Linked DNA regions of Homo sapiens: all the other regions are linked to region 1. Evidence: promoter capture Hi-C in 16 types of primary human blood cells and fetal thymus (Javierre and others, 2016). All regions are on one chromosome and are shown on one strand. The core of a region is centred on a gene start or on the middle of the fragment in contact, and the rest is flanking DNA. Distances in the headings are between cores, read along the strand shown.

What was found. The method cuts DNA at HindIII sites, captures the fragments that hold promoters and counts their contacts. A CHiCAGO score of 5 or more calls a contact.
Region 2: a fragment that was not itself captured here is called in contact with the fragment with the promoter of CLDND1 in region 1 in 1 of 17 cell types (fetal thymus); the score reaches 5.1 in fetal thymus.
Region 3: a contact is called between a fragment that was not itself captured here and the fragment with the promoter of CLDND1 in region 1, in 4 of 17 cell types (non-activated CD4 T cells, naive B cells, total B cells and 1 more). The highest score is 8.0, in non-activated CD4 T cells.
Region 4: a contact is called between a fragment that was not itself captured here and the fragment with the promoter of CLDND1 in region 1, in 3 of 17 cell types (total B cells, fetal thymus and total CD4 T cells). The highest score is 9.0, in total B cells.
Region 5: a fragment that was not itself captured here is called in contact with the fragment with the promoter of CLDND1 in region 1 in 1 of 17 cell types (total B cells); the score reaches 12.2 in total B cells.
Region 6: a fragment that was not itself captured here is called in contact with the fragment with the promoter of CLDND1 in region 1 in 5 of 17 cell types (fetal thymus, naive CD8 T cells, non-activated CD4 T cells and 2 more); the score reaches 7.5 in fetal thymus.
Region 7: a fragment that was not itself captured here is called in contact with the fragment with the promoter of CLDND1 in region 1 in 1 of 17 cell types (total B cells); the score reaches 7.5 in total B cells.

The regions. Positions count from the first base shown.
Region 1 is chr3:98,521,351-98,524,528 of GRCh38, forward strand. It overlaps CLDND1 (claudin domain containing 1), which reads right to left and starts at 1,552. Exons shown (of 5, transcript NM_001040181.2): 1 at 1,499-1,552; 2 at 1-92. The coding sequence starts at 74. CLDND1-AS1 (CLDND1 antisense RNA 1) reads left to right here and starts at 1,220. Exons shown (of 2, transcript NR_198998.1): 1 at 1,220-1,483. RefSeq lists silencers at 999-1,108, 1,159-1,798 and an enhancer at 3,001-3,130. The HindIII fragment of the contact is 2,905 bases long and covers 735-3,178 here.
Region 2 is chr3:100,272,087-100,275,129 of GRCh38, forward strand. All of the region lies in intron 1 of TBC1D23 (TBC1 domain family member 23), which reads left to right. Among named protein-coding and RNA genes, the nearest start is that of TBC1D23, 13 kb to the left of the region's middle. The HindIII fragment of the contact is 7,791 bases long and covers 1-3,043 here.
Region 3 is chr3:100,404,528-100,408,061 of GRCh38, forward strand. The region is part of intron 1 of LNP1 (leukemia NUP98 fusion partner 1); the gene reads left to right. Among named protein-coding and RNA genes, the nearest start is that of LNP1, 4.8 kb to the left of the region's middle. RefSeq lists an enhancer at 3,438-3,534. The HindIII fragment of the contact is 5,109 bases long and covers 1-3,534 here.
Region 4 is chr3:99,872,465-99,875,857 of GRCh38, forward strand. All of the region lies in intron 1 of CMSS1 (cms1 ribosomal small subunit homolog), which reads left to right. The region is part of intron 4 of FILIP1L (filamin A interacting protein 1 like); the gene reads right to left. All of the region lies in intron 1 of LOC105374010 (a long non-coding RNA gene), which reads left to right. Among named protein-coding and RNA genes, the nearest start is that of HP09053, 50 kb to the left of the region's middle. The HindIII fragment of the contact is 2,943 bases long and covers 137-3,079 here.
Region 5 is chr3:100,337,124-100,340,467 of GRCh38, forward strand. It overlaps NIT2 (nitrilase family member 2), which reads left to right. Exons shown (of 10, transcript NM_020202.5): 2 at 1,964-2,082; 3 at 2,692-2,812. Among named protein-coding and RNA genes, the nearest start is that of NIT2, 4.0 kb to the left of the region's middle. The HindIII fragment of the contact is 1,707 bases long and covers 1,061-2,767 here.
Region 6 is chr3:100,253,077-100,256,343 of GRCh38, forward strand. No RefSeq gene overlaps it. Among named protein-coding and RNA genes, the nearest start is that of TBC1D23, 6.3 kb to the right of the region's middle. The HindIII fragment of the contact is 4,896 bases long and covers 1-3,267 here.
Region 7 is chr3:100,047,059-100,050,286 of GRCh38, forward strand. The region is part of intron 1 of CMSS1 (cms1 ribosomal small subunit homolog); the gene reads left to right. The region is part of intron 1 of FILIP1L (filamin A interacting protein 1 like); the gene reads right to left. Among named protein-coding and RNA genes, the nearest start is that of FILIP1L, 66 kb to the right of the region's middle. RefSeq lists an enhancer at 701-790. The HindIII fragment of the contact is 2,629 bases long and covers 352-2,980 here.

The DNA.
Region 1 (3,178 bases), core at 302-2,801:
GCTGCCATGTAGATGGTGGAAATGAGGCTAAGCACACAAGCAATTACAAATGCTGTAGCAAAACGGTTATCCATTCTGGCATTCAGACTGCTCTGTTTAGAAGTTGAAGAAAGAAGATAAGTTAGAGTTTACGGACAAATAAGAAAGATTATTTTGAATTATTCCAAATGCACCCTTTACCCAATTCCCCATCCCTTCGTACATATAACCATTAAGAATTTTTTTTAGAAAGCAAGCATGTTTTTAATTAAGCTTAAAACAAAACTCATTCTCATAAAAGTACTTATTGAATGCTCACATACCCAGGATGCTACGGAGACAGAGGTCTTGTTCTCTAGTCTATCACCTGCATACTAAAACAGACAACACTGAAATGGACATACACATTACAGATACAAACAATAGACATGCCCATGGTCAGCAGTGTACCGTGCACACATTTTAAATTACAGACTGAATTTTTGCACGAGCTGCAGAGGATTAAGTGTTCTGGGTTTGAGTGTTAAAAAGGCACAGGAAAAAGAAGCAGTGGAAATTGGCTTCTCCCAGTTTCCTCTGAAGAGGGAAGCCTCCTAAAACAAAGGTAAGAGTCAGGAGCCATACAGAAAACAGAGTTGAAGATGTTTGTTAACCCCGAGGGAAAGGTTGTTCTAGGTGTATAAAATAGCAAAGAGAACAATAACATGTAATAATGCTAGATAGCAATCTCTCCCTAATCCATTAAAGCTAAGCCAAGCTTCTTTACGCTGCCAAATGCTTCACTCCTATCTACTCTCCCGATTCCTTATACTTCTGAACCTCCTCAACAGAAATCTTGCTCTCTCCCTAAATCCTCAGTGCAACATACGTCCGCAAAAACTAAATGATCCCTCCTCAGCCAGACAGAAAACTCTCAACATATCAACACTCCCAAGGCGTGGACAGGGCTCAACGGCAGTAGTAAATGGCCGCGGTAAAATGACTCAAGGCAGATCGCGCTGAGTCAAATACTACACGGCAAGTATACACCGTGACCGCACCAAACACCTTACAAAGGTTCATGAAAACAGACTCGCAAACTGGGGTTGCTGAGTTTGGAAAATGGGAAGTGACTCAGGAAAGATAAGAGCAATGACAACGAAAACTCAAAAAGTTGGATTTGTATTTTGATTTTTTAAAAATCCCCCCTTCATCCTGGTGCTCTCAAATGACCTTAAAGGGTCCCAGCACTGGGAACGGCGGTTCGTCCAAGCCGGACGCCTGCAGCAGCCACCTCCTGGGCCTCACGGCGGGGCCGGAGAAGGCCAGGGCTGGGGCGGGGCAGCCGTGCTCGGCCCCGGGCCAGGGTCCCCCGGTACCCGACCAGGCCCCGCCCTAGAGGGCTCGGCCCTGGGACAAATCCGCCGCTCGGAACCCGCCCAGCCCGACCACGCCCGGGAAGGGGGCCCCTCTTCAAACCGCCGGGAACATGGAACCGCGACGCGACCCCTGCCCGGCGACGCAGGTCCCGCTCACTCACCGCCCATCCTCCTGCTCCGCCAGCTTCACCCTCTAGCTCAGACCACAGCACCCTACTCTCCCCGCGCCTCCTCTGACGCACTTCCCTGCAGAGCCCGCCCCCTCCATAACTCCCGCGCCTCCGCCCGCCCCCACTCCGGGCCGGGCCGCGGCCCGGGGCCGAGGGGCCTTGTGGGAGTTGTAGGAGGGACAGACTGAAAGCTGTCTGAGGCGGCGATAGGCATTCCTGGCGCCGCGCGCGGCGCATTGTGGGAGATGTAGTTCAGCTCCTCAGGGCAAGCCGGTACGCAGAAGGGAAGTCTAGGCTGTTGGATTCTTGCATTTTAGGGAGGAAGGGAGAATGGTCCAGAAAGTAAAGCGGGCCTGTTTCCGGTCATCTCGAGTCAATGACCGTGACTTGTATAACTTAGATCTGACTTTTAGGCCTGTGCTTTCCCTATCACACCACCCTGCCTCTAGATCTAAGTATAAATGAACAAAAATGGGATTCTACTTGTGAAACGTTGACCCATTTTATTTCCCTCTCCCAGAATCCCTCCCATTGGAGCAGAGCATCCTTCTGGTTTTATTGCATAAGTTTAGGCTAAGAAGTATGTGACCTGGCAGACAGTATCCATCAAGAATGTAATGATATTATTTGGGTTTCATAAAATGTGTTTGTAGCTGCCTTCTTTTTATGACAAGTGATACTAGTTTTCTATTGCAGCAATGTTGTTCCTTTTAAATTCTTTTCACTTATTTTAAAAACTATTAAGTTAATAATACTGAGGATACCAGATATGTCAAAAAATGAATAAAAAATTGTGGGTATAGTAGGAAAAAGACTGAAATTTGGGGAACATCACTCAAGCAGATAAGGTCATGGACAGCATTGGAGATTGCAGATGATGTGTGGCACAGGGGCAACAATGATTCTGAACCCTCAGGTTTAACACAGAAATTCATGGACAGGAAGCAGGGACATCTTAACAATAACATGAGTGGAACTATTAACGTGGCCTGGGACCAGCAAATGGTGGATTTCTCAACAGTAACCGACAGAGAAAGCTGACTCAAGGACCAGAGGGGCTCTCAAACCCCCACTCTGTCCCCTAATGCCTTGTAATTTAGCATAGGAGAAAGATGGGAGCTGCAAGTTGATATTAAATTTCTACCACTTTGACAGATTAAAGGCATGATATGTTTCTCTATCTGTACTTACATTTCTTTGACCTGAGTGGGTGAAACTGATATTCATATGCAGCACATAATAAGGTAGTAGCCAAATATATTCAAACATGACTCTGGATTTTCATATACAGCATATAATCAAAAAAAAATTTGTCAGAGGCACCAACTAGAGAAAGTGATGGAGAGGCACAGGCAAATTGTCAATGTGTAGTAAGACACATAAATGCCCTTATACTCCAGGAAATGTCTTCATCCATTGGCCTTCATTAGAAATCCCCTATTTTCCGCCGGGCATGGTGGCTCACGCCTGTAATCCCAGCACTTTGGGAGGCCGAGGCGGCAGATCACGAGGTCGGGAGATCGAGACCATCCTGGCTAACACGGTGAAACCCCGTCTCTACTAAAAATACAAAAAAATTAGCCAGGCGTGTTGGTAGGCGCTTGTGGTCCCAGCTACTTGGGAGGCTGAGGCAGGAGAATGGCATGAACCCGGGAGGCGGAGCTTGCAGTG
Region 2 (3,043 bases), core at 326-2,825, 1.8 Mb after region 1:
CACTCAAAAATTGAGCCACATGTTTTTATATCTTTTAAGTTACTTCCAAGTTTATCATACTGTAAACCTTTAAAATACAGTTTGTTGTCAGCTATAAGTTGAACTTGTTTCGCCTGTTTATCCTTCCAATATTCAGTATTGGAGAACTAAAATGAGACAGATAAAGTAGTACATGTGCCACATTGTTTCCTACTTAATGATTCTGTAAAGTATCCTTTCTTAAGTAGCAGTTACTTAATACGCTAGAGAAGTAATATGTTTGAGAACATGCAGTATTTCGTTTTCTGTTCCTCCTTTAGTTTGCTAGTGATAATGGCCTCCAGAGATGACACAAACAAATGGAAAAACATTCCATCCTCATGGATAGGAAGAATTAATATTGTTAAAATGGCCATACTGCCCAAAGCTGAAGGGGTGGGTTGCCCCTCCACACCTGTGGGTGTTTCTCGTTAGGTGGAACGAGAGACTTGGAAAAGAAAAAGACACAGAGACAAAGTATAGAGAAAAAAATAAGGGGACCCAGGGAACCAGCGTTCAGCATATGGAGGATCCCGCCAGCCTCTGAGTTCCCTTAGTATTTATTGATCATTTTTGGGTGTTTCTCAGAGAGGGGGATGTGGCAGGGTCATAGGATAATAGTGGAGAGAAGGTCAGCAGATAAACACGTGAACAAAGGTCTCTGCATCATAGACAAGGTAAAGAATTAAGTGCTGTGCTTTAGATATGCATACACATAAACATCTCAATGCCTTACAGAGCAGTATTGTTGCCCACATGTCCCACCTCCAGCCCTAAGGCGGTTTTCCCCTATCTCAGTAGATGGAACATACAATCGGTTTTATACCGAGACATTCCATTGCCCAGGGACGGGCAGGAGACAGATGCCTTCCTCTTGTCTCAACTGCAAAGAGGCATGCCTTCCTCTTGTACTAATCCTCCTCAGCACAGACCCTTTACGGGTGTCGGGCTAGGGGACGGTCAGGTCTTTCCCTGCCCACGAGGCCATATTTCAGACTATCACATGGGGAGAAACCTTGGACAATACCTGGCTTTCCTAGGCAGAGGTCCCTGCAGCCTTCCGCAGTGTTTGTGTCCCTGGGTACTTGAGATTAGGGAGTGGTGATGACTGTTAACGAGCATGCTGCCTTCAAGCATCTGTTTAACAAAGCACATCTTGCACAGCCCTTAATCCATTTAACCCTGAGTTGACACAGCACATGTCTTGGGGGTAAGGTTATAGATTAACAGCATCTCAAGGCAGAAGAATTTTTCTTAGTACAGAACAAAATGGAGTCTCCTATGTCTACTTCTTTCTACACAGACACAGTAACAATCTGATCTCTCTTTCTTTTCCCCACAAAAGCAATTTGTAGATTCAGTGCTATTCTCGTTACACTACCATTGACATTCTTCACAAAACTAGAGAAAACTATTTTAAAATTCGTATGGAACCAAAAAAGAGCCCAAATAGCCTAGGCAATCCTAAGCAAAAAGAACAAAACTGAAGGCATCACGCTACCTGACTTCAAACTACACTACAGGGCTAAAGTAACCAAAACAGCAGGATACTGGTACAAGAACAGACACATAGACCAGTGGAACAGAACAGAGGACCCAGAAATAAGACTGCACACCTACAACTGTCTGATCTTCAATAAACCTGACATAAGTAATGGGGAAAGGATTCCCTATCTAATAAATGGTGCTGGGATAACTGGATAGCCATATGCAGAAAATTGAAACTGGATCCCTTCTTTACACTATATACAAAAATCAACTCAAGATGGAAGCCTAAAAACTATGAAAACCCCATAATAAAACCCAGGGAATACTATTCAAAATTGTATTTTCAGTATGATTGAGTTTATTATAAATATAGATGTCTATATGTAAATATATGTCTATATATATGTCTATAAATACACACATGAGAAACTGAAAAGTGATTCACAAAAAGTGATTATCTCATGGTAATGGAATTGTGGTTGGTTTTTAATTTTTTTAATGCATTGGCAAAATTCTTTAAAATGATTATGATTAAAAATTCATTTTAAGAAAGTAAGCTGTTGTTCAGTAACAATAACAAAAGAAATAGTATTCATGGATTCTGTTTATTAAGGAATTATGTAGCCAAGCATTGCCCTGAATTTTTTGTGTTCAGAAACTTATTTAAGCATTAACTGACCCTATAAGATAAGCATTGTGGTGCTTTTTCCTTTTGTAAGGTCACATGGCTGTTGAAGGGCCAAAATTGAAACCCAGGTCTGACACTAAAGCTCAAATTTATGAATTTTTATAATACGTTAAATAGAGTTGATTTTTTTAAATTGTGGTAAAATATACATAATGTAAAAAGTTTACCATCTTGACCATTTTTCAGTGTACATTAGTATTGAGTACATTTACATTGTTGTGCATATAATCTCTAGAATGCTTTTCATCTTGCAGAACTGAAACTTTGTATCTGTTAAAGAGCTCCTCATTCTCCCCTCCCTCTGCCCTGGTAACCGCTCTCTAAATTTACTACTCTAGGTACCTCACATAAGTGGCATTGTATAGTATTTGTCTTTTTGGGACGGATTTATTTCACTTACCGTAATGTTGTCAAGGTTCATCTATGTCGTAGCATGTGTCAGAATTTCCTCCCTTTTTAGGCTGTATAATAGTCCATTATATATTATATATAATATATATTCTATAATATGTAATTAACTTATTAATTACATATATAAATTAATAAACATATATAATATGATAAATATATAATATTTGTTTATTAATTACATATATCTATGCATACAGTACACACCCCCCCCCTTTTTGTTTATTCATTCATCCCTCAGTGAACGGACACTTGGGTTGCATTCACCTTTGGGCTACTGTGGATAATGCTGCTGTGAACATGTGTATACAAAAGTCTCTTTCAGACTCTGCCTTCAATTCTTTCAGACATTTCAGGATATGGAATTGCTGAATTGTATGAGACATGTATTTTTAATTCTTTGTGGAACTGTCATACCGTTTTCCATAGTGGCTGCGTCAT
Region 3 (3,534 bases), core at 165-2,664, 1.9 Mb after region 1:
ATATTCCTCAAGTGAGGAATTTATTAGAATATGTCTTCTTCTTTATCTTCAATCTCTCCATTAGTAACCAAAGTAAATCTCATTGCTTCAGGTACCATTTCTGTGCAGATAATCACTGTCTATATATCTTTTGGCATAGCTTCCCTTTTTACCTCTAGCCCTATATTTCTTACTACTTACTGAGCAGTTTTGCTTGGATTCCTGACTTTTGTCAAAAATATAACTCATCATTTTCCCCACTCATTCTTTCTCTTTGTGTTATCCTTTTTTTTTTTTTTTTTCCAAGATGGAATTTCGCTCTGTTGCCCAGGCTGGAGTGCAGTGGTGTGATCTCGGCTTACTGCAACCTCTGCCTCCTGGGTTCAAGCGATTCTCTTGTCTCAGCCTCCCGAGTAGCTGGGACTACTGGCGCCCGCCACCACACCTGGATAATTTTTTGTATTTTTAGTAGAGACGGGGTTTCACCGTGTTAGCCAGGATGGTCTCGATCTTCTGACCTCGTGATCCGCCCGCCTCGGCCTCTCAAAGTGCTGGGATTACAGGCATGAGCTACTGTACCCAGCCTGTGTTATCCATTTTTTCTAATAATACCACTATTACCTTAGCAGTTACTCATATTTGAAACCATAGACCTTTTTAGACCTCTCTCTTTTTCATCCTTACCTACCCAAGCACAAATGATTATGCTGTTGTATTTATATACACACATAAACACAAAATCAGCTGTGAAGTCTTCAACAAATTCAACTTTGTTGTAATATCTTTCTTATAGTTTTTTCACCCATTCTGACACTTCTTAGTTCATATAAGTGAAAACTCCTAAGAGTATGTATAACACATAACAGATACTCAATAAATAGTTTCTTCCCATCTTAGTACAGGCTGCTATAACAAAAATATCATAAAACTACTTAGCTAATAAACTATAGAAATTTATTTCTCACAATTCCTGAGGATGGGGGTTTGAGATCAGTGTGCCAGCATGGTCAAATTCTGTAAGAGCCCTATTCTGGGTTGAGGACTGCAAATTTGGTTTGTGTCCTCAAATAGTGGAAAGGGGCAAGAAAGTTCTCTGGAGTCTCATTTTTATAGGGGCACTCATCCTATTTTTAAGGGCTCCATCCTCATGATCTAATCACTTCCCAAAGGCCTCAACTCCTAATACTATTACATTCCCCTCTTTTTTCTCTTTTATTCATTTCCTTCATCTTGCCTAAATCCTATATTTGCTTGCTTCCCAGATAATTTCTCTGCCTCTAGTGCCTCTCTTCTATGTGTCACCCTGCACCTTGATATCAATTTACTCTTCCTATAGCATAACTGTAATTTCACTCTTGAGCTGAAAGACTTTTAAATCCTCTTCACTTTCACTATAAAGTTCAACATTTCTGCCCACCCATGCCTCCCTTCATACACCTCTTCTCTTTCTTTGGTCTACGATATTAGCACCTAGCACTATTAGAAATTACCTATGTGGGCCGGGTGCAGTGGCTTGTGCCTGTAATCCCAACACTTTGGGAGGCCGAAGCGGGTGGATCACCTGAGGTCAGGAGTTCAAGATCAGGCTGACCAACATGGTGAAACCCTGTCTCTACTAAAAATACAAAAATTAGCCGGGCATGGTGGCACATGCCTGTAATCCCAGCTACTCAGGAGGCTGAGGCAGGAGAATCGCTTGAACCCCAGAGGCGGAGGTTGCAGTGAGCCGAGATTACCCTATTATACTCCAGCCTGGGTGACAGAGTGAGATGCCGCCTCAAGAAAAAAAAAACCTCTCAGGTGTACACTTGTCTGTGGGAAAAATAAAAAAATAGTGTGATCCCCTCAATAGGATGTAAGCCCCACGAGGACAGAAACTGTTCATTTTGTACAGCCAGAGCCCAGAATATAGGTGGTGTGATGGGTAATTTCATGTGTCAATTTGACTGGGCCATGGGATACCCAGATACTTGTTTAAACATTATAAATGTGTCTGTGGTGGTGTTTTTGATTGCTTGATTTTTATTTTTTTATTTTTATTTTTTGAGATGGAGTCTTGCTCTTGTTGCCCAGGCTGGAGTGCAATGGCATGATCTCGGCTCACTGCAACCTCCGCCTCCCGGGTTCAAGCGATTCTCCTGCCTCAGCCTCCCAAGTAGCTGGAATTACAGGTGCCCGCCACCATGCCTGGCTAATTTTTGTATTTTTAGTAGAGACGGGGTTTTGCCATGTTGGCCAGGCTGGTCTTAAACTCCTGGCCTCATGATCCGCCTGCCTCAGCCTCCCAAAGTGCTGGGATTACAGGCATGAGCCACTTCGCCTGGCTGATTTTTATTTTTAGTGTATCTATTGTCGGTTTTTGCTTCAAAAAACATAGATATTACAGGTTATTTTAGACTGATAACAAGTTAACTTTGATTATTTACACATACACATGCAAACTACACTTTAACTCCACTTCCTTTCCTCAATATTTTGTGCTTTCAATTTCACAATTTAAGTATTTTTATATTGCATATCCATCAACAAGTTGCTGTAGTTATTAATTTTAATACTTTTATCTTTTAGCCCTACTAAAGATACGTGATTTACACACCCTCATTACAGTATTTAAATGCTACCATTACAGTATCAGAGTATTATAAATTAAATTTAGCTATGTACGTATTTTTGCCAGGGAGTTTTATACTTTCAGATGTTTCTGTGTTTATCATTAGTGTCCTTTCAGCTTGAAGAACACCCTTTAGCATTTCTTGTAAGACAGGTCTGGTGGTGATGAACTCCCTCAGATTTTGTGTGACTAGGAAAGTCTTTATCTCATGTTCATTTCTGAATGACAGTTTTGCTGAGTACAGTATTCTTGATTGACAGTCTTTTTTTTCCTTTAGCACTTTGACTATATCATACCACTCTTCCCTGGCCTGTAAGATTTCTGTTGAGAAATCTGCTGCTAGGCATATTGGAACTGCCGTATATGTTACTTGCTTTTTTTGTCTTGCTGCTTTTAGGATCCTGTCTTTGTCTTAGATCTGTAGAGTTTGATTATAATATGTCTTGTGATAGTCTTATTTGGATTGAATCTAATTGCAAATCTTTGACCTTCCTGTACCTGGCTATTTATATATTTCTCCAGGTTTGGGAAGTTTTCTGCTATTACTGCTTTAAATAAGCCTTTTACACCCTTATCTTTCTCTACTCCCTCTTGAATGCTGGTAATTTGCGTATTTGCTCTTTTGATACTATCCCATAAACCCTATAAAGTTTCTTTATTCCTTTCCACTCTTTTTCCTTTCTTCTCCTCTGTATATTTTCATATAACCTGTCTTCAAGTTTACAGATTCTTTTTCTGATTGATCAATCCTGCTCTTGATGCTCTCTATTACATTTTTACATTCATTGTATTTTTCAGCTCCAAAATTGGTCTGATTTTATTATTTCAATTTATCTGGTAAATTTCTCATCTGACCATTTATTATTTTCCTAATTTTGTTGACTTGTTTCTCTGTATTTTCTGAAGTTCTTTGAGCTTCTTTAAAACAGCTGTTTTGAATTCCT
Region 4 (3,393 bases), core at 358-2,857, 1.4 Mb after region 1:
GTAGTTATCATAAACAGACACAAGGAGTTGAGGTATGTCTGCATCCTGTCTGTCCCAATCATACACTTACCTATCTACTCCTCTACTTACCTCCCTACTGCTCCCCTGCCTGCCCCCACAAACACATCATTCCCCAAGCTTGTTTAAAAAAAATTCTATACTTAACAATTTATCATATTTTGGAGCCAGTAGAGCATAGAAATGTGAGGACGGTCAGACTGGAAAAAGAATACTGCTAATGTGTTCTCGTTCTTGGGCTCAGAATTAAAACTGCTGCTGTCCTATCTTAATCTGCTAAAGCATCTCAGAGAACAAGCATGAAGAGGGAGTGTTTCTCATATCTGAAAAAGAAACCAGGGACTTTCCTTGGTAAGCCTTCCCATTTTTGTTTGCCCAGCTTTCCCAGGCAGAGACGATGTTAGTGCAGATGAAGGTCAAGGAGAATCTCAAGTCTTTTTTTTTTTTTAAAAAAAGGAGGGATGTGCAAAGGCTGATAAGTGTTGGTGATAATCTGCTAGGAATTAGTGTACCTAACAAAATGACTCAAAACATGAATGTCCTACCTCATTTTAAGTAGAAAATGACCAGCCATAGGAGGTTCTAAAAGTCATTGCAGCACACTTTAAGCATAAGTGACTGGGTTGGTGGCTAGAAAATGTTGTGGTGATGACAGCAGCAACCACAGAAATATTGCTTTGAAGGTTTGTGATGCTGGCTGCATATGCAGTGTCTCTTCATCTTTAAATCCTTATTTAAATATAATTTACAAAAACTAAACAATCAGTTTAAATTGAAGCTGAATTCATGGTCAAATACAAATTAAATGGACCTTAAAATCGTTTAAAATTAATATGTCCAACAGATAAGGTAGGGTGTATTAGATTTTTCAAAGATGACAGGCTCTGTGAACAACAGATGGGGCCATTTCAGTTCCTGAAGCAGGTTGAGACCAATATTGCCTTACATCCACAATATCCAGTCTTTTATAAACAGTTCTCTTCTTGCCCCTCTTCCTTTTTCCTTTAAATAGGAGGGGCTGTATGTTTTTTTTCTATTCACCTTGTAAAATGTTCACTTTGCCCTGAAGCACTAGACATGGACAGAACATGACCTAAGCAGAATTATTGGAATCTTATTCTTCCTCCTACATTTTCAGTTTTTTTTCTTAAATCTCAAAATCCATTTATTACCAAAGGCACTTTTTTGGAGGGGAAATTACAGCAGAGAACCCTTAAACAAAATTTACAGCCTTTTGAGAAGGCAAATTAATGGGAACTGCAAGAGAACCGGAAAATTAAGTCAAGGCTTGATTTGTGTTTTCATACTGGCTGTTACTATAGTCTCCATCACAGCATTAGGAAAATAGCACAAAAATACCAGGGCTTAACAGTTAAGGTTAATCACCACAAAAGTGCAAATGAACTTACTAAGCATAAAATTATTATGTGCTTTATTTGGAAGTGTAGAAATTCACATTCATTCTATCAAAAACATTTTCCCATCATACAGATTGTCCCAAGGACTAAGAAATTGCTCATCCAAAGAGCCCAGTGTGAGATAGGGTATCCATGATAAGTCATACTTAGCTTTCAGTTTTAAAAGAGGTCTTATGTGATTGTTCTTTGAACCATGCTTTAAAGTTAATAAATGGGAAAAAGTGTGGAATATTAAAGAGTGTTATTTTTAAATTTTAAAAAATCGATGCTTGCCTGCTTTAAAAAAATAAAAGACACTGGGAAACACAGCTGTTAGAATTTTGATGGAAGTTATGATTTTCAACAGTTGAGTTGTAGTTTATGGTACAGATGGTACTCTGGGTATACCTGAAACAATAATTGATGGTTTCTGTTTGTCTCTTCCTCTGTTAGATTCAGAAGAGCAGAATATCTTTTTTCCAGAGCAGGAATTTTTCAGTTTCCAATTACCGCTTATATCAGATAAACAACTCTTCCATTGCATATTCTGTACTTCTCCACAGTGACATGGGTGTTGGCCCCGCTCTTCTCATTATGGTGGGCTTCCCTAGGTTTGAAATAATAGTTTGTGGAAAATCCTACTTCTCAGTACTAACCTGCAGTTTATATAGCCTATCCTCAGGCCAAATAACATATAATTTTTCTTTTAAAATATGAAAACCAAAGTCGTGCATTGCTCCAAACAAAATTAGCAAAAACAAAAAAACTGCTATGAGGCAAAAATGATAGGCACCAATGTCATATACTTTTAAAAACCATCCAACAGAAATTATTAGAAATATACAGATATAACCCACATTTTGAGTATTTTTTAAATGCTGTGTTTCAATGATAAAATCTGGGATCTGACATTTTCTTCTGACAATTAAATATAAAAACATGAGTTTGTAACACACACATACACCTCAGTGGTTATAGTGCTCTGCTCCTCTGTTAAACTTTTACTGTACCTCCAAACAGTTATCTTATATGGTCATTTTAGTGCCAACTAAAATGCCAGCATTTTAAAATCTCAGAGTAAATATAAATGGCAGCCTATGAATTCTGAGTTTGAATTGTATATACTTATAAAACATAGAGACTGTTTTAAAAGGGACAATTCTGTCACATAGTTGTTAAAGTTTTATTTTACAATATATGTTTAGACCAGATAAGGATTGAATGATGAATCAATTTTTCATCTCCTATTCCAGTGTTCTAAAGTTGACATAACCTTTTTATTTTTAATTCCTACGTTGACTTTTAGTTGGAAAAAATGAAGTAAAATATTATGGAGATTTTTCTGCCAAGTGTTCAGTTATCATACTGTAAGAGTTCATTGGTAGCAATAGCCTCTTCAGGATTTAGATGTAACTAATTATGGTTTAAAATGTTACTGATTAATACAGTTACTCTATAAGTTTTACCTTTTAAATTGGCATTTTTTACATAATATACTACTATCCAAAATATTACTCTAGAAATGATAGCTGTAAGTGAGGTTTGTCATTTTTCCAATGCCTGGACTTGAAGCAGAAAGTTAGAACTCAAAACTATGATAGTTACTTCCTTGTACAAATTGACATATGCTTTTACGACAAAATAGCGTTTGTACGATTTTTTGAAGCTTAAAAAGATTTTACTTTTTAAGTTAGATTCGTCTTAATTCCAAGATGTATTCCTAACAGTGTTTTTCTAGTCGTTTATATTAACATTTACAAAAAGAGGGGAAAACCTGGCACTAACAAATTTTCGCATTCTGCTCATGTAAGACAAGCGAGTTTGAGTCCGGAGGAGAGATAGGGTTGCTGCAGTACAATATAGTCTCCCCCACCCTTTCCCCAAAGATTTCTCAATATGGGCAGGATTCAATGTGTAGCTCACTTGGAAAGCGTATGTAATACAGTCACCTCCCACCTCTCAACATTTAAAATTAAAT
Region 5 (3,344 bases), core at 664-3,163, 1.8 Mb after region 1:
GGACACAGCACATGTTTCAGAGAGCTCGGGGTTGGGAGTAAGGTTATAGTTTAACAGCATCTCAAGGCAGAAGAATTTTTCGTAGTACAGAACAAAATGGAGTCTCCTATGTCTACTTCTTTCTACACAGACACAGTAATAATCTGATCGCTCTTTCTTTTCCCTACACTAATAATTCCTGAAGTTTTGCAGAGCTTCATAGATTATAATGTGCTTTGGATCCTTTACTGCTGCGTCCCACCAGACCATAAGCAGGAACTATGTATCCATCAGGGTCCAGACAGGACATGGAAACAACACTAGTAACTCGAACAAGGAAAATTATTTATTTATTTATTTATTTTTTTGGAGACTGAGTCTCACTCTGTCGTCCAGGCTGGAGTGCAGTGGCGCGATCTTGGCTCACTGTAACCTCCAACTCCCAGGTTCAACTGATTCTCCTGCCTCAGCCTCCTGAGTAGCTGGGATTACAGGTGCCCACCACCACACCTGGCTAATTTTTGTATTTTTAGTAGAGACGGGGTTTCACCACGTTGGCCAGGCTGGTCTGAAACTCCTGACCTCAGGTGATCACCTGCCTTGGCCTCCCAAAGTGCTGGGATTACAGGCGTGAGCCATCACACCCGGCGGAAAATTTTATATAAAAAATTATTATCTGGCCAGGCGTGGTGGCTCATGCTTATAATCGCAGCAGTTTGAGAGGCTGAGGCAGGAGGATCGCTTGAGCCCAGGAGTTCGAGACCAGCCTGGGCAACAAAGTGAGACCCTGTCTCTACAAAAAATTACATAATTAAAAAATTAGCCCGGCATGGTGGTGCATACCTGTGGTCCCAGCTACATAAGAGGCTGAGACAAGAGGATTGCCTGAACTGAGTAGGTCAAGGCTGCAGTGGACCATGTTTGTGCCACTGCACTCCAGCCTAGGCGACAGAACAAGGCCCTGCCTCAAAATAAAAAATATTAGCTAATGGAAAGTGATTATCATAAAAGCTAAAAGGGAACTTTAAAGAACAGAAGAAAAGCAAATATGATGTATAGCTACTACCTCCAGGAAGAAATAAGCTTGGAAGAGCCCCCAACCTCCTTGCTCCAGGGCTGAGCACAGACCTTGTCAGGGCTGGCTACATAATTTGTGGGGCCCAGTTCCCTTGTTCAGATAGCAAGAGAAAAGTGCTGTTAGCTTTTCCTTCTGCAGTATCTCTTTCAACCTCTCATGGTGTTATTTGCTGTTTAATATCATGTTCTCTTGGACACATGAATACTTATGGGGTAAGTGCAGACTTTTAGAGGTGCCTGGGACCCCTGTCCTGTGAATAGGCATGTGTGCAGCTCACTGGCTGCCAGGTTTTCCCTCTGCCAGCAGCGGGATCGATGTGCTGTGACCCAGCCAGTAGTGGGGAAACTGAGACAGACATCTTCCCTTCCCATGAGCTGGGCTGCTCATGGGAATTATGTGAGCAGCTTCCAAGGAATCACACTTTCTGTGCTGGGACATACTCAGTATATGGATTGGAGGTAGACGAGAGGCCCATGAACAAACAGTAAGGGACAGGACCATATTCAAACCCAGTCTTTTTACTTTAAGCCATATTCTCATTTCATTCCCTACACTGCGTAGTAAGAAGCTGGTTCACTCTAGATTCTTGTGCCTGGCATGGGACTTTGCCCATGGATATTGCTCTATCTCCAGATAGATTTTAGACTATTGACATTTTGGACAGGATAATTCTTCGTTGTGTTATGGAGGGGGTTGTCCTATGCATTGTAGGATGTTTGGCAGTATCCTTGGTCTCTATTCATTAGATGCCACTCATACCTCATCAGTTGTGGCATCAAAGGTATCTTCAGACATTGTCAGATGTCCCCCCGGGGACATAACTGCCTTCCATTTGAGAACTATGGCTCTGTCTGAATCCAGCAGTTCGATCTTCTGATAGCTGTTTTCTTTTGTCTTTGTTCTCAGCTTTCCGCTTGGCCCTCATCCAGCTTCAGATTTCTTCCATCAAATCAGATAACGTCACTCGCGCTTGTAGCTTCATCCGGGAGGCAGCAACGCAAGGAGCCAAAATAGTTTCTTTGCCGGTCAGTATGGGAGCAGCCATTCTGTTCTAGCCACTGTACACCCAAGCAGAACGGTGTTTGCTAGCTCTGGTTGTCCTCTTGTATCCTGGGGTCCAGCAGTGTCCCTTGGAGCCCATAGATTGTTCCGAGTCTGACTGGAGGATGACCTTAGCAAGGTTCTTTGTGAGATAGGATGTGCCAACACGGTCATAGGTCTTTAGGTTTTGGATCTTCCTCTTTGTTCAGATGAGGAAGCCAAAATCCTAGTATATTGAGGGACTTACGGAAAACTAAAATACTCAGTGCTTGGATACTTTGTTCCTTATTTAACTAAGTCTTTATAGAACCAGAACATATTGGTTTTAGCACTAAGCCTCCAACATTTTTTTTTTAAATGAGCTCTGGGAGAACACCTGTGATTTGTCTCCTCCAACCCACTAGGCTAGCTTTGTAGTCTTACCTGTGGCTACAGGCTCTTTACCCTTGAGATGTCAGTGTTTTTCTTATTAGCTGTGTTTTAACCCTTCGACTGAAAGCAGAGCTAGAAGCAGCAGCTATGGCCTCTTACAGCAGAACTTTAAAATGGGTGGGTGTTTTGATCTTTTTTTTTCTCTGCCAATATTTTTCTAGGAATGCTTTAATTCTCCATATGGAGCGAAATATTTTCCTGAATATGCAGAGAAAATTCCTGGTGAATCCACACAGAAGCTTTCTGAAGTAGCAAAGGAATGCAGCATATATCTCATTGGAGGTAACTTCCTACCCACAAGGTATAATGACCTAAACATTAGAAACATCTGAATGAGTCAGGTGTGGTGGCGTGCGCCTGTATTCCCTACTTGGGAAGCTTCAGCTTGGGAAGCTGAAGCAGAGAGTTTCTTTTTCTTATTTATTTATTTTTTTTGAGGTGAGGTCTTGCTTTGTCACCCGTGCTAGAGTACAGTGGTGTGATCATGGCCCACTGCAGCCTCACCCTACGAGGCTCAAGTGATTCTCCCACCTCCTGAGTAGCTAGGACTGCAGGTGTGCGCCACCATGCCTGGCTGATTTTTGTATTTTTTTGTAAAGACAGAGTTTCACCTTGTTGCCCAGGCTGGTTTTGAACTCCTAGGCTCAAGCAGTCTGCCCACCTTGGCCTTCCAAAGTGCTAGGATTACAGGTGTGAGCCATCATGCCAGGACTGTTTTTTACTATACTAATAGAGGATTGAGAAAAAAAATTTTTTTCCATAGAGGCCACATACATAAAGGTAGCTTTATTTTTGTGGTTTTGGAATAAATGTT
Region 6 (3,267 bases), core at 336-2,835, 1.7 Mb after region 1:
ACCACACCTGGCTCATTTTTGTATTTTTAGTGGAGACGGGGTTTCACCATGTTGGCCAGGCTGGTCTCGAACTCCTGACCTCAGGTGATCCACCCGCCTCAGCCTCCCAAAGTGCTGGGATTACAGGCATGAGCCACTGCGCCCGGCCAAATTCATAGTCTTTAAATAAAACCTGAAAAATATGGAAAGAATAAAGAAGACAATGAACATCACTTAAAATGTCCCTGCTGTATTTTGGCTTTGGATCTTTCTATTCTTTTACCTGTGTATACATATATGTATGTATATTCATTCCCTTATCCTAACCTTAACACCACACCATGCCCCTAGGTCTGAAAGTCGTAATTATAATTCAACCCAGGAAATGTATGCAACTCGAAGGCTCCTATATTGACAGGTAATGAAGGCAGTCTTTATTAAAAGTCCACCTCTTACTCCCAAAATGAATTGGCAATATGAAACTTCTTAAATCTCTTCTTGGATCTTACAGGATTAGGCCCCAAATTTAGTTCTTCCATGTTTATTTTTGTTAATAAATCCTTAGGAGCAACTCCTGTGGCCCTTGCTTGAAGGAAAAGCACCTGACATGTGAATTGGATGACTTTTGACAACGGAAGACAGGGCCATCCTTGAGTATTGGATCATGGAGGCTCCCAATTCCCCTACCTGTGAGTTGAATTCGGAAGCCACATTGAGCAGAACTGAATTTCTGAAATGAATCTGAGTGAGAATAAACCTCCCTAGCAATGTCAGACACCAGGACAAACCAGGTTTGGGGAGCAAGTCTTTAAACAAGAACCATATCTGACTGACTCTATCCAGTGGGGACACATCCCAGGGCAGAATCCCATTTGCTTGAAGTCCAGTATTGGGATAGTGAATCTTTCTCCTCTTAAAAGTTACTGATGCAGTGGCATATGGCTGGCAGACTTCAGTACTTGCTAAAAGAATACCTCATGTGTTTATGTCACACAAACCAGTATGTCTGGACAATGTTACAAATGTAGCTAAGCCACAGAAATAGTTTTCTATACAATATTTTAAAATTTGAGATGGTAAAAGGATAGGAATATAAAACCAGAAGTACATAATACTTGAAAGCAGCTGGTAAAATACAACAGGTGTCCGCAGATTCAAAAGCTATTCTTGGTAAAAAGACTCCTAAACAGTCTTCCTAAAATTGCATTATTTTCTAAGCTGCCCCTGACAGATCCCAGGGTCGTTTAAGGGACATAAGGAGCTTGGCAGCCAACTTGCTCCAATGGCTCCCCACTGGAGTTACATGAGTGCCACCTAGTGACACTTGTTAAAGCTGAAGGGGGCCCGGATAGACCATCTAGCTCAATTTACCTCATCTGAGGAAACTGAGGCCCCGATATCAGAGATAACTTAAACAGGGCCACACATCTACCTGGCTAGTGGCTGAGCTAAGGCTAGGAATCAGGCGTCTTGCTTCATGGTTCCCTCAACTGGAGATAATCTCTGGAGTTTGGGAGTCGGGAGTCCTGCCTACTGCACTGTGCCAGAAAATAAAGCCTAAACCTTTCAGGGCCTCAGGTTACCCAGGCATTAAACTCATAAAATAGTATTTGTTTCAAGTCTTTGAGACACATGAGTGTCAGAGAACAGAACCTAAAAGTTGGTAAAAGTGCCCATAGGCATTTAGTCTGCTTTCCTCCACCGTGAGTGACTGCCCCTGAAACAGGTGTACAAGTAATCACATTATTTCCTACAACCAAGGTCCAAAGTCATCAACCTTAATTCAGGGGCAATGCATCAGTTATAGCCTTTTTAGCACCTTCTGCAGGTCTGACACCATCTTAGAGATCAGTTGTAATAAAAGTATCATTGGAACCACTCAAGTTTTGATTTCCAGAAGTCAGATGTTCTGCAGTTCTCCAGTTCGAGTTTCTATTTCAAGATTAGTCTAGGCCAGTGGTCCTCAATGCTGCCTGCACATTAGCACTGCCTAAGAAACTTTTAAAACTCACCTGTGCTTGTGTCTGACCCTAGACCAGCAGAATCAGAATTCCCGGGGGTGACGTTCCCACATCGTTTTATGTGTGTATGTTTTTAAGTTCCTTGGATTATTCCAATGCTAAGAGGATTGAAAAACATAGTGCTGGGCTGAGCTTGTGCTAAGAAAGAGAAAGAAGAGATAAATGTAGGAAAGGTGGGAGGTAGATAAGACCATTCCCTCTAAATCCTGGAACAGAACTTGGTCTGTACTCAAGTGCTCAATAAATGATTGCTGAAACTTGTCCAATGTGAGGTGGTATGATGAGAATGAAGGAGTTCACAATCTATTCATGATTTTAGGATTCTTTATAGCCTCACATAAGAAACATTTACAAAGAACCACAAGTAAACTTAAAAGTAGGAGAAGCCGGTAGACATGTCCATGTAGATCAAGAAGAAATGTTTTAAAACCTGAACACTATTCAAGTCTACATTACTCTCTGCTTTCCTTCTCCTTTCCCATTTTTAACTTCTTGATTCCTCCATTCAACTCACATATTATGTATCTACAGACACATATGATAAAGGGACCGGCTATATTCCAAAAGGCTTTGCTGTCATTCTCTGAGGAAGAGACAACTGAGCTGAGCACTGAAGTAAGAGTAGGAGGTAACTAGATGCTATGTGTACATATGTTGGGGCCCAAAGGTGTGCAGGGCTGGGTGATCTTTCAAGACAGAAGAGACAGCAAAGGCCACATGTTGGGAAAGAGTATGGCTTATTCAAAGAACACAGAGGAGACCAGTATAAGGGAAAGAAGAACATGGTGTGGAAAGGGACTGGAATGTCCAGGAGGGCCTTGTCCATTTGCTTTCATATACATACATACCATGTACCACCATACCATGTACATACCAAATAGGCTGAAGACAAATGGGCTTTCTCTCTGCTGACAGATTATCACAGAATGCTTTGAAAATATTAATACTTTTTAAAATAATAAATGCTTTGAAAATATTAATACTTTTTAAAATAATAATGTTTTTTATGGCAACATTATTGTTATAGTAATAATGGGTTGGAAATGGAGATACAGGAGTTACCAGATTATAAGTGAGAATTAACAACAGAGAATTTATTATTGTCCAGAAAAAAAGTGTGAGCAAAATTATAGAGAATAAATTATTTATCCAAACTTTTGGATGCTTTTGTATCTGTAGTCACTTTTATGTTCATGATATCCTAAGAATTCTTTTTGTTTACTTTTGTATTTTCCTTATGTAAATTTGAGATGTGAAAATGACAATG
Region 7 (3,228 bases), core at 416-2,915, 1.5 Mb after region 1:
AGGTTTTGAAGGTCCAAAACTGCTAAATGTTTAGCCATTGAAGTTTTCTAACCTAAATTTCCTTGTTGGTAAAATGGGTATAATACTTTCTCTGCCTACCTTTCTAGGGTTATTTTCAGGATTAAATGCTTTTAAGGAAGTGAAACTAGTAAAAACTATCGGAGGGAAGTGTTGTTATTTTCTTCTTTTGAGAACAATATATCTTTAAACATTTTTAGAAGAAAAAAAGGTTTTGAATTCCTTGAAGAAAAGGTGCTTCCAAAGCATATTTATTGATGCTATTATTGTAAATCCCTCTTTAAGCTTCATGCATTTAAAAATTAATGACAACTCTCCTCTTCCTTTCTGGAAAGCTTTTATGACTTAACTCCAAATTCTATGTGTTTAAAAAAACTAAAGTATCATGTCCTCCTTAAAGAATACCATTATTATTCATAACCTCTGAAACCAGCGAGGGTCATAAAGCTACTGACTGCGAATGATTAAGTGGCCACAAATAAAACACTGGTATTACCACATGTAAATTCTTTCCCTGCAGTTTATGCCTCCGCAAACAGTGATTCAACTGCAGGTGTCTGTCAAGAGACAGTAGAGTTTTGTCCTTCTGGAAGCCTCACTGTATGTGAAGTCAAGAAACAATGCCCCTGCCACTGTCTAGCTATAGCCTCAATCAAATCATTTCACCTCTCTTAGCCTCTGCTTCCTCTTTTAACTGACAGGGCATTCAGTGGCTGTGCGTCTGGGCCTCACTGCTCTCCCCAGAAGGCATTTGAAAAAAAAAAGGAAGGCATTTTTGGTTGTCAAAATGACAGGGTGGGCGAAAAATGATAGGATGGAGGTAGCTTCTGGCACTTAGTAGGCAAATTTTCTATGGTGAGTTGAGCAGACTCATGAAAGAACGAATTGTCCCTCCTATAGTGTAAATATACCCTCCTAAGAAACACTGGGCCATAGCTTGTGAAAGTGAAAGGGTTTAAATTAGTAGTAAGGGACTGTCCCAGGCAAGCTGGCATATAGGGGCCAAACAGCCACAATCCAAGTCCACTTGTGCTTGCATTGTCTTCCTGCATTCTGGCCCTGTTTGCCCCACAAATGACCAGGTCCCAAGCTCTGCTGAACAGCCCTCAGGGAAGGGGACAGATAGGTCCAGACCAAATCCTTCCACTGTCTTTATTTTACTAGGAAAACTAGCAATAGACTTAAAGTTAACTCACTTGTTTATCCCTTAATTTGGTTATGCTTTAGTCCCAGAGGCCCCTCATTTCTCCCCTTTCCAGACCTTCAGAGCCTTCGGCACTGCCAGCCCTCAAGTATGGCAGCTGCTTGAAGCATTTGCTTGGGGTGAGTTGGGGAAAGAGGAGGAAGAGTAGAGCCAGCTCTTCCCTGCAGCTGTGGCTAACCGAGGCAAGCTGTGACACGGAGCTCACTCCATCTCAGTCAGAGCCCACCCTGAAGCCATATCTGTGGGTGCAAAGTTATTGTGACACAACCCACCACACAGTGTCAGGGGAGAAACTGAGCATGGTAATTGAGGTGCCAGGTGATTCTTGCACCACTTTTTTGGACTGCCATTTAGAGAGGGAAAATAAAAGCCAAATCAGGAATCATTTCCACTCTGTTAACATCTCACTAAAGGAAGCAATCAAGTCCAGGTGGGTTTTATGTTTCTCAGCCCCTGTACATGGACAAAGACTGGGATTCCAGATTTTCCTAACTAGCCCTAGGTTTTTCTCCTAGGACATTTTCTTTCTGCTTCTAAAATTGTATTTTACTCTTTAAAAAAAAATCTGTTGTGCAGAATTATATAAGGTTGATATGATGGCCTAGACTGATTGCTTAAATATGGACTTGGACAGTTATGGAAAAGCACTTTTGTTTGTGTCATGGAATTAAAGTTACCACACACACAATTGTCTATTTTCAAACCTAATGGATTACATCTTATATGAATAAAAGAGTATAGCAAACAAAAGGGCATAAAATTTTTATGCCAGAAACAAAGTCGATGTCTGAATTTAACTGGAAAAAAACTGTAGAAATTTGTGTCTGACAATTGCAAACAGTTCTCTTTCCTTGTTTTTTCTTTTACCTTCTCTCCTTACTATTTGAAGTTATACCTTTGGGAACACATATCTTCTCTACATTATAGAAACGTGGCAATAAATCATGGTAACAAATAAACTGTTCTCTTGTTTCATTTATCATCTGTTTTTGAGGTTTGAGCATACTCAACAAAGATTAGAGGTTAGACTATTGCTCTTCTAGCTTGTTATGAAACCCTAGGGTCTTACCGAACTTACCAAAGTCGATGAAGGATTAATTTGGGGAGAGCTTTTTAAAAAATCACTCAGCATTATAAGGGAGGTTAATATGGCACTAGAGTGTCATATTTTTAAGAGGGAGTCTTCTTTTTATTGATTGATCTATTTATACCTCACTTCCAAAACATATGCAGTACAGAAAATTAAAATAATTCATTGAGGGAATAAAAGTGATTAGAATATAAAGCCAGAGATAATAGTGAGAAACAGAAATAAGTTGACCCTTGAACAACATGGTTTTGAACTCTGTCGACTTCTGCCATTCCTGAGACAGCAAGAGCAACCCTTCTTCCTCCTCCTTCTCAGCCTACTTGAAGAATAATGAATAGTAAATATATTTTCTTAACAAATAGTAAATGTACTTTCTCTTCCTTATGATTGTCTTCTAACATTTTCTTTTCTCTAGCTCACTTTATTGTAAGACTACTGTTTATAATATATATACAACATACAAAATACTTGTTAATTGACTTTTTATTTTATCAATAAGGCTTCTGGTCAACAGTAAGCTACTAGTAGTTAAGTTTGGGGGGAGTCAAAAGTTATATGCGATTTTCAACTGCACAGAGGGTCAGTGACCCTAACTTCTGAGTTGTTCAAAGGACCATATACTGTGTGGTTCTTTACGGTTATTAGAAGTTAATCACTATTTAGCTCTAAGCTTCCTAGTGGCCTAAGTGAAAAGGAACATGCTTTTTTAATCACACAGACTCACCTGTGGAATGAATCTATTAAGGGCATCATGGGGTAGTGTTCGGGGGCAAATTTTTAAAATTTGTTTATTTACCAGCATTTCTGGTAGATCAGTTTCATAGATCAATAAATAAAAAGAAGAATCCTTCTTAAAAATATGACACTGTGGTGCTGTATTAACCTCCCTTATAACTCTGAGTGATTTTTAAATGTG